Linked DNA regions of Homo sapiens: region 2 is linked to region 1. The links are contacts of gene promoters, found by promoter capture Hi-C in human tissues and cell types (Jung and others, 2019). All regions are on one chromosome and are shown on one strand. Each heading gives the region's core, a stretch centred on a gene start or on the middle of the fragment in contact. The rest is flanking DNA. Distances are from core to core; before and after follow the strand shown.

Region 1 (5,599 bases), core at 1,742-4,241:
ACTGCCTAAAAAGACTGAGTTCGTGGGAGTGAGGGGGTGCTGCCATCACTATGGCTGCAGTCCACAGTTTTCCCATGCCACTGGTGCCAACGAGACTCAGCAGTCTGAATTGGGAGCAATTCCCCAGAGTGCAGCACAGCTGCTGGGTCAGTTTGTAGCCAGACTGCTTCTTTAAGCAGGATCCTGATCCACTCCTCCTCACCAGGCAGGGGCCCCCGCTATGGGAATCTCAGCATCCCCAGCCAGGGGTTCATGGACAGAACTCTGATATCCCTGAGAGGAGCCCCTGGGAGGAGAAGTGGCTGTGGTATTGTGGATCAGCCATCTTAGTCTTTTCTGCCTGCTGGCTCTGAAGAGTAAGGGCAGCCCAGACAAGGGGGATTCCCACCAGTGCAGCACATCCACCCTGCCAAGGGGCAGCTAGATTGCTTATTTAAGTGGGTCCCTAATCCTGGTCATCTTTTGAAAGAACCAACTTTAGTTTTGTTAAACTTTTCTATTGTTTTGCTAGCCTCTATTTTTAAAATTTTTTTGTTGGACTTTCGTTATTTTCTTCTTTCTGCTAAGCTTGGGCTTACTTTGTTCTTCTAGTTCCTTGAAATACAATGTTAAGTTGTTTATTTGAGATCTTTTTTGACATAGGTGCTTATTACTATAAACTTCTCTCTCAGCACTGTGTTTGCTGCATACCATAAATTTTGGTATGTTGTGTTTCCATTTTGGAGTTTTTGAGATGGAGTCTCACTCTGTCACACAGGCTGGAGTGCAGTGATGCCCTCTCAGCTCACTGCAACCTCCGCTTCCCAGGTTCAAGCCATTCTCCTGCCTCAGCCTCCTGAGCAGCAGGGATTACAGGTGCCTGCCACCACACCTGACTAATTTTTCGTATTTTTAGTAGAGACAGGGTTTCACCATGTTGGCCAGGCTGGTCTTGAGCTCTTGGCCTCAAGTGATCCACTCACCTCAGCCTCCCAAAGTGCTGGGATTACAGGCATGAGCCACTGAGCCCAGCCTGTCTCAAGATATTTTTTAAACTCCCTTTATATTTCTTCTTTGACCCACTGGTAGTTAGGAACATGTTCTTTAATTTCCACATATTTGTGAGTTTTCAAAAGTTCCTCCTTTTATTGATTTCTACTTTCATTCCATTGTGGCCAGAAAAGATATTTGATATTATTTTATTCTTCTAAATTTATTAGGACTTGCTTTGTAGCATAACATATGATCTATTCTGGTGAATGTTCTCTGTGCATTTTAGAAGAATGCGTATTCTGTTGCTGTTGGATGGAATGTCCCATAAATATCTGTTAGCTCCACTTGTTCCAAAGTATAGTTCAAGTCTTTTGATGAGTCTCTTGTGGGCAGTATATAGTTGAGTCTTTTTTTTTTTATCCATTCAGCCCTGTTTTTTGATCAAAGAACATAATCCATTTACATTCAAAGTAGTTATTGATGGGTTAGAATTTACTACTGCATTTTGTTAATTGTTTAGTGGTTATTTTGTAGATCCTTTGTTCTTTTCTTTTTCTCTTGTTCTCTTTGTGATTAGATGATATCCTGTAGTGGTATGCTTGATTTCTTCTTTTTTATCTTTTATATATCTACTATAGGTTTTGCCTTGTGGTTACCACAAGGCTTACATTCATCTCAGTATGATTAATATTTTCCGTTCTCAAAAACCTTACCTGATAAAGTTCTGACTAGGACTCATGGCCCACTATAGTTTGGACATAAGTTATTTTTTAAGGAAGGTGATTAAATTTTACTAATCTATATTATATCAACCATTTAAAAAATCCAATTGGCAGTTAATTTAACAGCATTCATGGATGCCACTGGGAAGCAGGGAAAAGATAGGGAAACGGAAAATTAAGAAAAAGACATAGAGTCAGAAGACAGAAAAGAAAGGGAGAAAAAAATAAAATTGTATAGGGAAATGGTGAGATCACTGATAAGCTTGCACCTGTGGCTTCAGCATCCTGAACCTTATTCCTGAGACAGCCACCGAATGCCCTCTTGTGGCCGATAGTACATCCTTCCACGCCAACACACTAGTAACACAGAACTTCATTTAAAATGATAAAGCTACCTATGCCGATTGCGCTTCGCTTCCCTGCCCCTTCCCTCCTAACTGAGCAAAATTATCTCACCTAAATGAGCATTTCATGCTGCATGCTGTTATTCTTACAAGGCAAATCCTCTAGGGGTCCCTGTCACAAGTTAATTTGGTAATACACAATCCTCTACATTATCTAACCGAAAGAACCAGATTTCCATCCCAGGTACCTCAAGACAGCGTCCCTACTTCTTTTTTCTGGAGATTGAGGCTAAGGCCCATGCCTCCCTGTGAACCAGTAGGATTTTTCTGAAGAAGCTTTGAACCTGACTAAACGCACATGGCCATATGCAACACTTAAACGTTTCACCACATATTTGATTGCCAGCTAAATGCCAGATCCCGGGGTACGATGGAAAGCAAGAACAGACGCAGGCCCTTGCCTTCATGAAGCGGGGGTCTCAGGAAAGAGGTTACACGCCCACAAATGGAAACAGGTCGATTAACACCGTGAAAGAGATGACAGGGGGTTTCTGTGAGGGAGACGAAGCTTTATTAACAACCTGGCAAACAAGAACGAGAAACGCATTCCAGGTGGAGGGAGCAACACTTTTTAACCTACGTTATCAGGTAACAGGGATCCTATGTTCTCACGCTTGGTGAGGAATCTCCCATTGAGGAAGGAAAGAAAAATGAATCAAACTAGGGGGTGGCGGGGTAGTGAGGGGATTTTTGGCTTTCATTTTAGGAGCCAGGGCCTGCTACCTTCGACCACCTGAGACCCCTGAGCTGGCGGGAAAGCCTTGACGCAGCCGGCGCGCGCCTTCCCTTGAAGTTCTGGCGACGCCCCCACGCGCTCGGAATTCCGCAGTGTTTGTGCGCGCCGCTCGGCCTGGCGCAGGCGCAGACAGGGAGCAGGGTCCGGCCGACCGCCATTGCACAACGCGGAGGACTAGCCTGGGGTCACAGGGATGCCGCGGCTCCTCCGCTTGTCCCTGCTGTGGCTTGGACTCCTGCTGGTTCGGTTTTCTCGTGAACTGAGCGACATCAGCAGTGCCAGGAAGCTGTGCGGCAGGTACTTGGTGAAAGAAATAGAAAAACTCTGCGGCCATGCCAACTGGAGCCAGTTCCGTTTCGAGGAGGAAACCCCTTTCTCACGGTTGATTGCACAGGCCTCGGAGAAGGTCGAAGCCTACAGCCCATACCAGTTCGAAAGCCCGCAAACCGCTTCCCCGGCCCGGGGAAGAGGCACAAACCCAGGTAAAAATCGAAACCGAAGGCATGTTTGTTCACCTCTGTATATTTCTTATTCCTGCATTTGCTCTGCCAGAAGGTGAGCTTCCCCAGGAAGTGGAATTTGTGCCTAGTACACAGCTCTTTAAAAAATTGTAAAAAACAGTGTATTGAAAATATACAAAACTTCAATGAAGCGCTTTTTTTTTTAACTTGGAGGAAATAAATGTACACTTGTAAGTCTACATATTTATGTAAGAATGTTGTTCTTTTCTGGAGTGCCAGTCATCTGGCAAACTCCTTTTTGTCCTTCAAAGCCCAACTTAAGTATCATTTTCCCTGTGAAGTCATCATTGACCTTTTCATGGCCAATGGCTCCATTGTCCTTTCTACCACAGTATCTAGCACATAGTTGTATTTGACTGTCGTCATTGGCTACAGAATCAGCCCAACCTTGTAGAAGATAAAAATGCAGAGTACCTTGTTCAAAAAAGCAGGAAAGGGCCATGAAAATAAAGGTAGTAAAATATAAAACTGTTTTCCTTACTTGTCCATATCCCCTGGTCACGTACCAGGAGATAGGCCTGGTCCGTTCTCCTATCAGGCTTCATTTAAGAGTTTACGTACTTGTATTTCATTCACTTAAAGTTTCAAAGGTAAATTTATTCAGAACAACAAAGGAACATTTAAACCAAATGCAAGGCCTGTGTGACTACATAGGTTTCAGTCCCATAAAGTCAGCCCTATATACCATACTGTATTATAGGGACTATTTCATGCATATTTTTGTCTGAAATGCTTAGCAGATGGCCTAGCACATCGCATGTGTTTAATATGCGCTGAATTTATACTTGATGCTTTCAAGCAGTCTGCAGGAAGGATATTCTTGTTCCAGATTCATTGGTATATCTTACTATGTTTTTACATTTTGTGACTAAGACATTTTAGTCCCAGTATGATTTGTCATTTTAAAAGAAATTGCACTTTGTTTATAGTGTATCCATAGGAAGAAGATTACTGCCTTTTACAGTAATTCAGTTGATTTGATTTGGACAAATCTTGTAAAAGTGAAGATTTCTGAAATTAAGGAAATGAGTAAACTATCATGCCAAAAAGAGACCCTAATGTAGAGGACTGAAAAAAGTCAAACAATGCACATTGTAGGCACTCATTAGCTTTTTTGGAATGAATGAATAGAATTTATAAAGTCACTGTTGCTGAAAGAATAAAAACTTTTAAAGACAGAAACCATGAGACTGATTCATGATCATTTTCAAACCGACCCATCAAACTAACCCACATACAAACCTCACCTTGTCCTTCTGTTATAATGAAGGAAGTGTCTCTCCCCAGTCTTCTACTTTTACTTTAGTTCAGTGACTCTCACGCTTTAATGTGCATATGAATCATTTGGGAATCCTGTTAATTTACCGACTCTGAGTTAGTAGACCTGGGGTGGGGCCTGATATTTTTCGTTTTTAACTAGCTCCCAGGTGCTGCTAGTTCGTGGCCCACACTTTTGAGTAACAAGGTCCAGTTTACTGTCTGTCTCTCTCTTTTTTTTTTCTTTTAAACTCCTCTTTCTTGTTCTTTTCTCCCAGGAGTGCAAGGAGAGCCTTCCCTTTCTGCTTTATGTTGGGTGGGCATTTCTCTCACATCAAATACTGTGCTTTCACTACCTATGCTATAATACTGTAGTCAAAATTTTATTTTTAGACCTCCAAGCTTGAGGCTGTTATTTAAAGAGAGGTTGGAATGCCTTTTCTCAACAAAGTGCTCTAAAGACAGTTTTCTTAATAAAAATGTTCAACCTTAAAACTCAGCTTGTTAATGATCCTTTTGTTTTAAGTATTATTCACACTCCCCTGGAAGAATAAATGTCATTAATAATGAGCAGGAAGCTGCAATGAAACAAGACTTGTAGAAAATAAAAATGTATCTGAAAATATTTGAAAATTGTTATACCCACAAAACCTGCTACTATGGAAACTATGTAAAAGACAGTTTGCTGAAGTGGAAATACTATGTAACAGTAAAACCACAGTTGTATTGAAATATGTAGAGGAAGGAAAAATGGGTTAGGTTATCAACATGAATTGTATTATAATTTTAAAAATTATTAATCTATAAGGGAAGATGACATTTATTCTGTCCTGTTAATTTCTAGGAAATAATTTAGAAGTTGCAGAGATGTATATGTTTCTAATATAGAATACATAATTATGACATCATTTTTATATATGAATATGGCTGGAAAGTTGATTACTTTTTATTTCACTTTTACCAGCAGGACAAGTTGTTGTGTTAGAT
Region 2 (6,197 bases), core at 1-2,500, 550 kb before region 1:
TTCCGTCAACAACATCTTGTGGCCAAACTCCATGAAGCTGCTATAATAAAGAAAAATAGTTAAGGCTTAAAAAGTGTTTCTCCAAATTTACCGTAGTCAATATAATTCTCCTTCAATAAACATACAATTTCATAATGCTTTATTTGGTTTCATCTGCAGAGGAAAATATCCCACCAGGACTACCACAATAGTCTCCCTTAAAATACTACCAAATAGTCTCCCTTAAAACCTCAAACTTCTCATGAATTGGTCTGATAAATACTCAGCTCAGTCCAGTGCTAGTTAATTTATTTAAAAAACACTAAAATATGGAAATTCATCTCCAAATTCAAATAAAGATGACTTTCTTGTTAGAATGTAAACATTTTGACAGCGGAAACAGCATCTAACTTGCTCACTGTAATTATTCTCATCACCTAGCACATAGTATTTAACTTCTCAGTCAGTGAAAAGTAGTACATTCTGTTTGGTTTATTCTTTAGAAGCAAAATTGCTTACTATTCTCTACAATTCCCTTCTTTATAGTGTAATGGTTAATAGCATGGTATCTGGAAGCCTGACAGCTCAGGACTGCTTTCACTCCTCAAAATAAGTATTTGATCTTTTTTAAGCTTCAGTTTTCTTATCGTATTTACCTCTCAGGGTGTTTCAAAGATTAAATGAAGATACACATGTAAACTATTTAGGACAATGCCTACCATTCAACAAGCATTCAATAAATAAATGACATTATTAGTAAGCATATATGCTATTTCCATATGCCATCTCCATATATAGAGAATAGATTCAGCTCAGTTGTTTGCTCCTATCTGTCAAATCACAGACATTTTAGATGATAAATTCCAAGGCAAAGGTCATAATCATTAGTTCAGTTAGCAGAAAAAGTGGCACACTATAATATAGCACTTTATTTTTGGATGATCCTAATAGTAAACATTAAAGATACAATATAATCACAACTATATGAACTAGAATCCTACAGATTTCATTTAATTCCACAATCAGCTATATAATCTACTATCTAAACACGGAATCTTTGCTTTAGTAGGAATTGTATCTTTTAATTTTAATAATAAAACTGGACATTTTATGTCACAAATGGTAAAGACAGCAGTGAGCATTATTTCTCTGAACTGCTGCTTAGACTGAAATTCAGTCCTACAATAAGTATTTTCTAGGTGGTTACCATTCACCAGGCACTGCTCTAGGTGCTGAGGCTATACTAGCACACCAAAATCTCTACTTGTATGCTTGCTTTACATTTGAGTCAAGAGACAGACAAGTTAAAAAAGTATATTGAATACTGGAGGTTAAAAAATACTATACAAAAAAAATTAAGCAATGCTGGTGAAGAGGGAGTACAGGGGAAGGATGTAATATTAAACAGGTTTCCCTATAAGGATGCCTTTTGAGGAAAGTCCTCAAAGAAATAAAACAAGTGTAAAAGCCCTAATGTAGGAGCATTTCTGGCATGCTCAAAGACCAGCAAAGAAGCCTGTGTGGATAGAGTGAAGTGGATGGGTTGTGAAAGGAAAGTAGTATATGTGGTAAGAGATGTAACAGGAGGTCAGATAATTAGGGCTTTGAAGGCCACCATAAGAATTTTGGCTTTTTCTTCAAGTTATATAGAAGAAGAATATTCAAATTTTTTAAACTTTTCTGTCATGAATTATAATAAAGAATACATGAAAATGAAATGTACATCTCAATATCACAAAGCAAACACTTGTGGAATTGCTACTCAGGCCAAGAATCATGAGTACCCAAAAGTCTCCCAATAGTGCCCTTCCCAATCACTGTATCCTCACACCCCTACAACAAAAAATATCCAGATTTACATGGTAATCACCTCCTTCTTTCTTTTAAATCATTACCACTTAAACATGCACCCATATATACTCTAATTTAGAAATGCCTACATTATTTGCCCTTTAATTTTTACCTAAAATGGAATCATAGCATGTATTCCTTTGTGTCTAGCTGTTTTTTGCTTACCATGTCTGTAAGATCTATCTGTGTTGTTGCATATAGCCTAATTTGTTCATGTTCATTGTAGGCTTAAATATTGGGCTTAGCTCACTGGATTGCTGGCCTCCCTTAGTCTGGCAACTCTTTACTGTCTTGTTTGCTCTCTAAGGGCTTCAAGCATATTAAAAAATATATTTTTTCTCCAGCTCTTTTAGTCCTCAGGAGGTTCTGTCCTAATAATCTAGTCCTACTGAATGAGTCTCCACAGAGGACTGACATAATCACATTTTAACACATCTGTTAAATGTCATTTAGTTATTTCCCTATTACCATTAATACATAGGTACTGTTTTCTTGTAATTTGTATTTTCTATCTATACCTTATTTAGTAATGCCCATCTGCTTTTCATTAGTTTTTAAATCCTTAACTTATTAGAAAAAATTATTTAATTACATACTAATAAACACTGAGAATATATTTTGTACTAACTCTAAAGTACTTGGAAAAGAGTCAATCACTTTTTCAGCTCTAATATTTTTATTTCCAGTCTAAACATTTAAGTCCCAAAGATAATTACAAATATATATGCACCTTATAGGAAAAAAAAAAGAGTTTTTTCTAATTCATCAAAAGTTTATTTTTATTCTTATTTATGTTCTGACACAGGTGATCACAAATACATTATTTAGTACCTTACTATCTGAATAAAGTTGATAACGGAAGATAGTAGATAGGAATATTAAAGTTGATACCAAACAGAATGACAACAATTAAAAAAGGCCATTAAAAACTTAAATTCCTTTCCAGTTAAAGAGAGATGACTGAATATAAATATTTAGCTTCTTGGACTCCTAAAACTGTAACTTCTAGAAGAGAAAAGAGTTTTTGTTTAAAAAAACATAAAGCAGCAAAGACAAAAATAATAGGAGGCGGCATTAGAAAATTTTAGAAGCTGGAAAGCATATCAATGAGTAGAATCCTTAACTGACAGGGAAGAATGCTGAGAAACGTCTAAATTTAAGTTGTAGGGTACACGAAAGGCTTGGGAATTCAGGGGTCTTTGAAAGGCTAAATTAAATGTAGTAGAAGTGGTTCAAAACCTACTTAAAGAAGCAACCAGGTCCTCCCAGAGCACTTCCCCAAAGCTGAGCAGCCAATAAATACCCTACCTCCACTCCTACGGAAAACTGGATATTTTTCTTTGGAGAAAAACAAAACAAAACACCCCCACCCCTACCACCTCCACCAGAGGCCTATGGACCACACTGAAAACAGGGATAGAAAATAAAGGTTCACATCTTGAATTTGGACCCGCTAGCTTAACTCTTCTGTAACTCAAATCCCAGAATACTGGGGTAGCCAAGTATATATCCTCTAGAAAGGACTGCAGGACTCTTTTCCAAGGAACACTGGAGACAGAGAGGGGAGAGGGGAGCAGAAGGGAGGGACAGAGGGAAGGGTATGGCTCTAAAGGTAGGAGGACCCCCAAGTAAATAACTCAGTCAGCTCATCCTATGGTAAAGGACATAGTAAACCAAACGAACCAAAATTCACAGTTTTCAATAAATTATTTTAATTTTAGGTCTCTGTCACAGCAGCCAAATCCATATATTAATTAGCTATTAGCTATTAAAAGATCCGACACAAATAAGAGTAAAGGGAATCTCAGGATAATTATGACAGAAGGCCAAAAAACAGCTGTGTTAAAGATTATAGTAAGCAAGCAGTCTAATTTGGAGCAGGCCAGAAGGCTCCCAGAGAAATTTCTTTAAGAAGATGAAATGGGAGGTTCCAAGATGGCCAAATAGGAACAGCTCCAGTGTACAGCTCCCAGCATGAGTGATGCAGAGGATGGGTGATTTCTGCATTTCCAACTGAAGTACCAGGTTCATCTCACTAGGGCTTGTCAGACAGTGGGTGCAGCCCATGGAGTGTGAGCCCAAGGAGGACAGGGCATCACCTCACCCGGGAAGTGCAAGGGGTCGGGGAATTCCTTTTCATAGCCAAAGGAAGCCATGACAGATGGTACATGGAAAATCGGGACACTCCCACCCTAATACTGCGCTTTTCCAATGGTCTTAGCAAACAGCACACCAGGAGATTATATCCTGCGCCTGGCTTGGAGGGTCCCATGCCCATGGAGCCTTGCTCACTGCTAGCACAGCAACTCAGATTGAACTGCAAGATGGCAGCGAAGCTGGGGGAGGGGTGTCTACCATTGCTAAGGCTTGAATAGGTAAACAAAGTGGCAGGGAAGCTCCAAGTGGGTGGAGCCCACCGCAGCTCAAGGAGGCCTGCCTGCCTCTGTAGACTCCACCTCTGGGGGCAGGGTATAGCTGAACAAAAGGCAGCAGACAGTTCTGCAGACGTAAATGTCCCTGTCTAACAGCTTTGAAGAGAGTAGTGGTTTGCCCAGCACGGAGTCTGAGGTCTGAGAACAGACAGACTGCCTCCTCAAGTGGGTCCCTGACCCATAAGTAGCCTAACTGGGAGACACCTCCCATTAGGGGCCAACTGACACCTCAATCCAGCTGGGTGCCCCTCTAAGATGAACCTTCCAGAAGAAGGATCAGGCAGCAACATTTGCCGTTCTGCAATATGTGCTGTTCTGCAGCCTCCGCTAGTGATACCCAGGCAAACAGGGTCTGGAGTGGACCTCCAGCAAACTCCAACAGACCTACAGCTGAGGGTCCTGACTGTTAGAAGGAAAACTAACAAACAGAAAGGACATCCACACCAAAACCCCATATGTATGTCAGCATCATCAAAGACTAAAGGCAGATAAAACCAAAGATGGGGAGAAACCAGAGCAGAAAAGCTAAAATTCTAAAAATCAGAGCACCTCTTCACCTCCAAAGGAACGCAGCTCCTTGCCAGCAATGGAACAAAGCTCGATGGAGAATGACTTTGATGAGTTGAGAGAAGAAGGCTTCAGACGATCAGTAATAACAAACTTCTCCAAGCTAAAGAAGGATGCTCGAACCCATTGCAAAGAAGCAAAAAATCTTGAAAAAAGATTAGACAAATGGCTAACTAGAATAAACAGCGTAGCAAGGACCTAAAATGACGTGATGGAGCTGAAAACCATCGCACGAGAACTATGTGATGCCTGCACAAGCTTCAGTAGCCGATTTGATCGAATGATTGAAGATCAAATGAATGAAATGAAGTGAGAAGAGAAGTTTAGAGAAAAAAAGAGTAAAAAGAAATGAACAAAGCCTCCCAGAAAAATGGGACTGTGTGAAAAGATGAAATCTACGTCTGACTGCTGTACCTGAAAGTGACGGGGAGAATGGAACCAAGTTGGAAAACACTCTGCAGGATGTTATCCAGGAGAACTTCCCCAACCTAGCAAGGCAGACCAACATTCAAATTCAGGAAATACAGGGAACGCCACAAAGATACTCCTCGAGAAGAGCAACTCCAAGACACATAATTGTCAGACTCACCAAAGTTGAAATGAAGGAAAAAATGTTAAGGGCAGCCAGAGAGAAAGGTCGGGTTACCCACAAAGGGAAGCCTATCAGACTAACAGCAGATCTCTAAGCAGAAACTCTACAAGCCAGAAGATAGTGGGGGCCAATATTCAACATTCTTATAGAAAAGAATTTTCAACCCAGAATTTCATATCCAGCCAAACTAAGCTTCGTAAGTGAAGGAGAAATAAAATCCTTTACAGACAAGCAAATGCTGAGAGATTTTGTCACCACCAAGCCTGCCTTACAAGAGCTCCTGAAGGAAGCACTAAATATGGAAAGGAACAACTGGTACCAGCCACTGCAAAAACATGCCAAATTGTAAAGACCATCGATGCTAGGAAGAAACTGCATCAACTAATGTGCAAAATAACCAGCTAACATCATAATGACAGGATCAAATTCACACATAACAATAGTAACCTTAAATGTAAATGGACTAAATGCTCCGATTAAAAGACACAGACTGGCAAATTGGATAAAGTGTCAAGACCCATCATTGTGCTGTATTCTGGAGACCTACCTTACGTGCAGAGACACACATAGGCTCAAAATAAAGGGATGGAGGAAGATCAACCAAGCAAATGGAAAACAAAAAAAAGCAGGGGTTGCAATCCTAGTATCTGATAAAACAGACTTTAAACCAACAAAGATCAATAGAGACAAAGAAGGCCATTGCATAATGCTAAAGGGATCAATTCAACAAGAAGAGCTAACTATCCTAAATATATATGCACCCAATACAGGAGCAC

The links. Contacts are between HindIII fragments. The study calls those that stand out against the background at their distance.
Region 2: a fragment that was not itself captured here is called in contact with the fragment with the promoter of INSL6 in region 1 in 1 of the 25 tissues and cell types used here (mesenchymal stem cells).

What each region holds. Positions count from the first base shown.
Region 1 is chr9:5,183,031-5,188,629 of GRCh38, reverse strand. INSL6 (insulin like 6) reads left to right here and starts at 2,991. Exons shown (of 2, transcript NM_007179.3): 1 at 2,991-3,316. The coding sequence starts at 3,028. The HindIII fragment of the contact is 6,352 bases long and covers 2,166-5,599 here.
Region 2 is chr9:5,726,231-5,732,427 of GRCh38, reverse strand. RIC1 (RIC1 partner of RAB6A GEF complex) reads right to left here. Exons shown (of 26, transcript NM_020829.4): 7 at 1-40. Among named protein-coding and RNA genes, the nearest start is that of INCR1, 100 kb to the right of the region's middle. The HindIII fragment of the contact is 3,199 bases long and covers 1-2,849 here.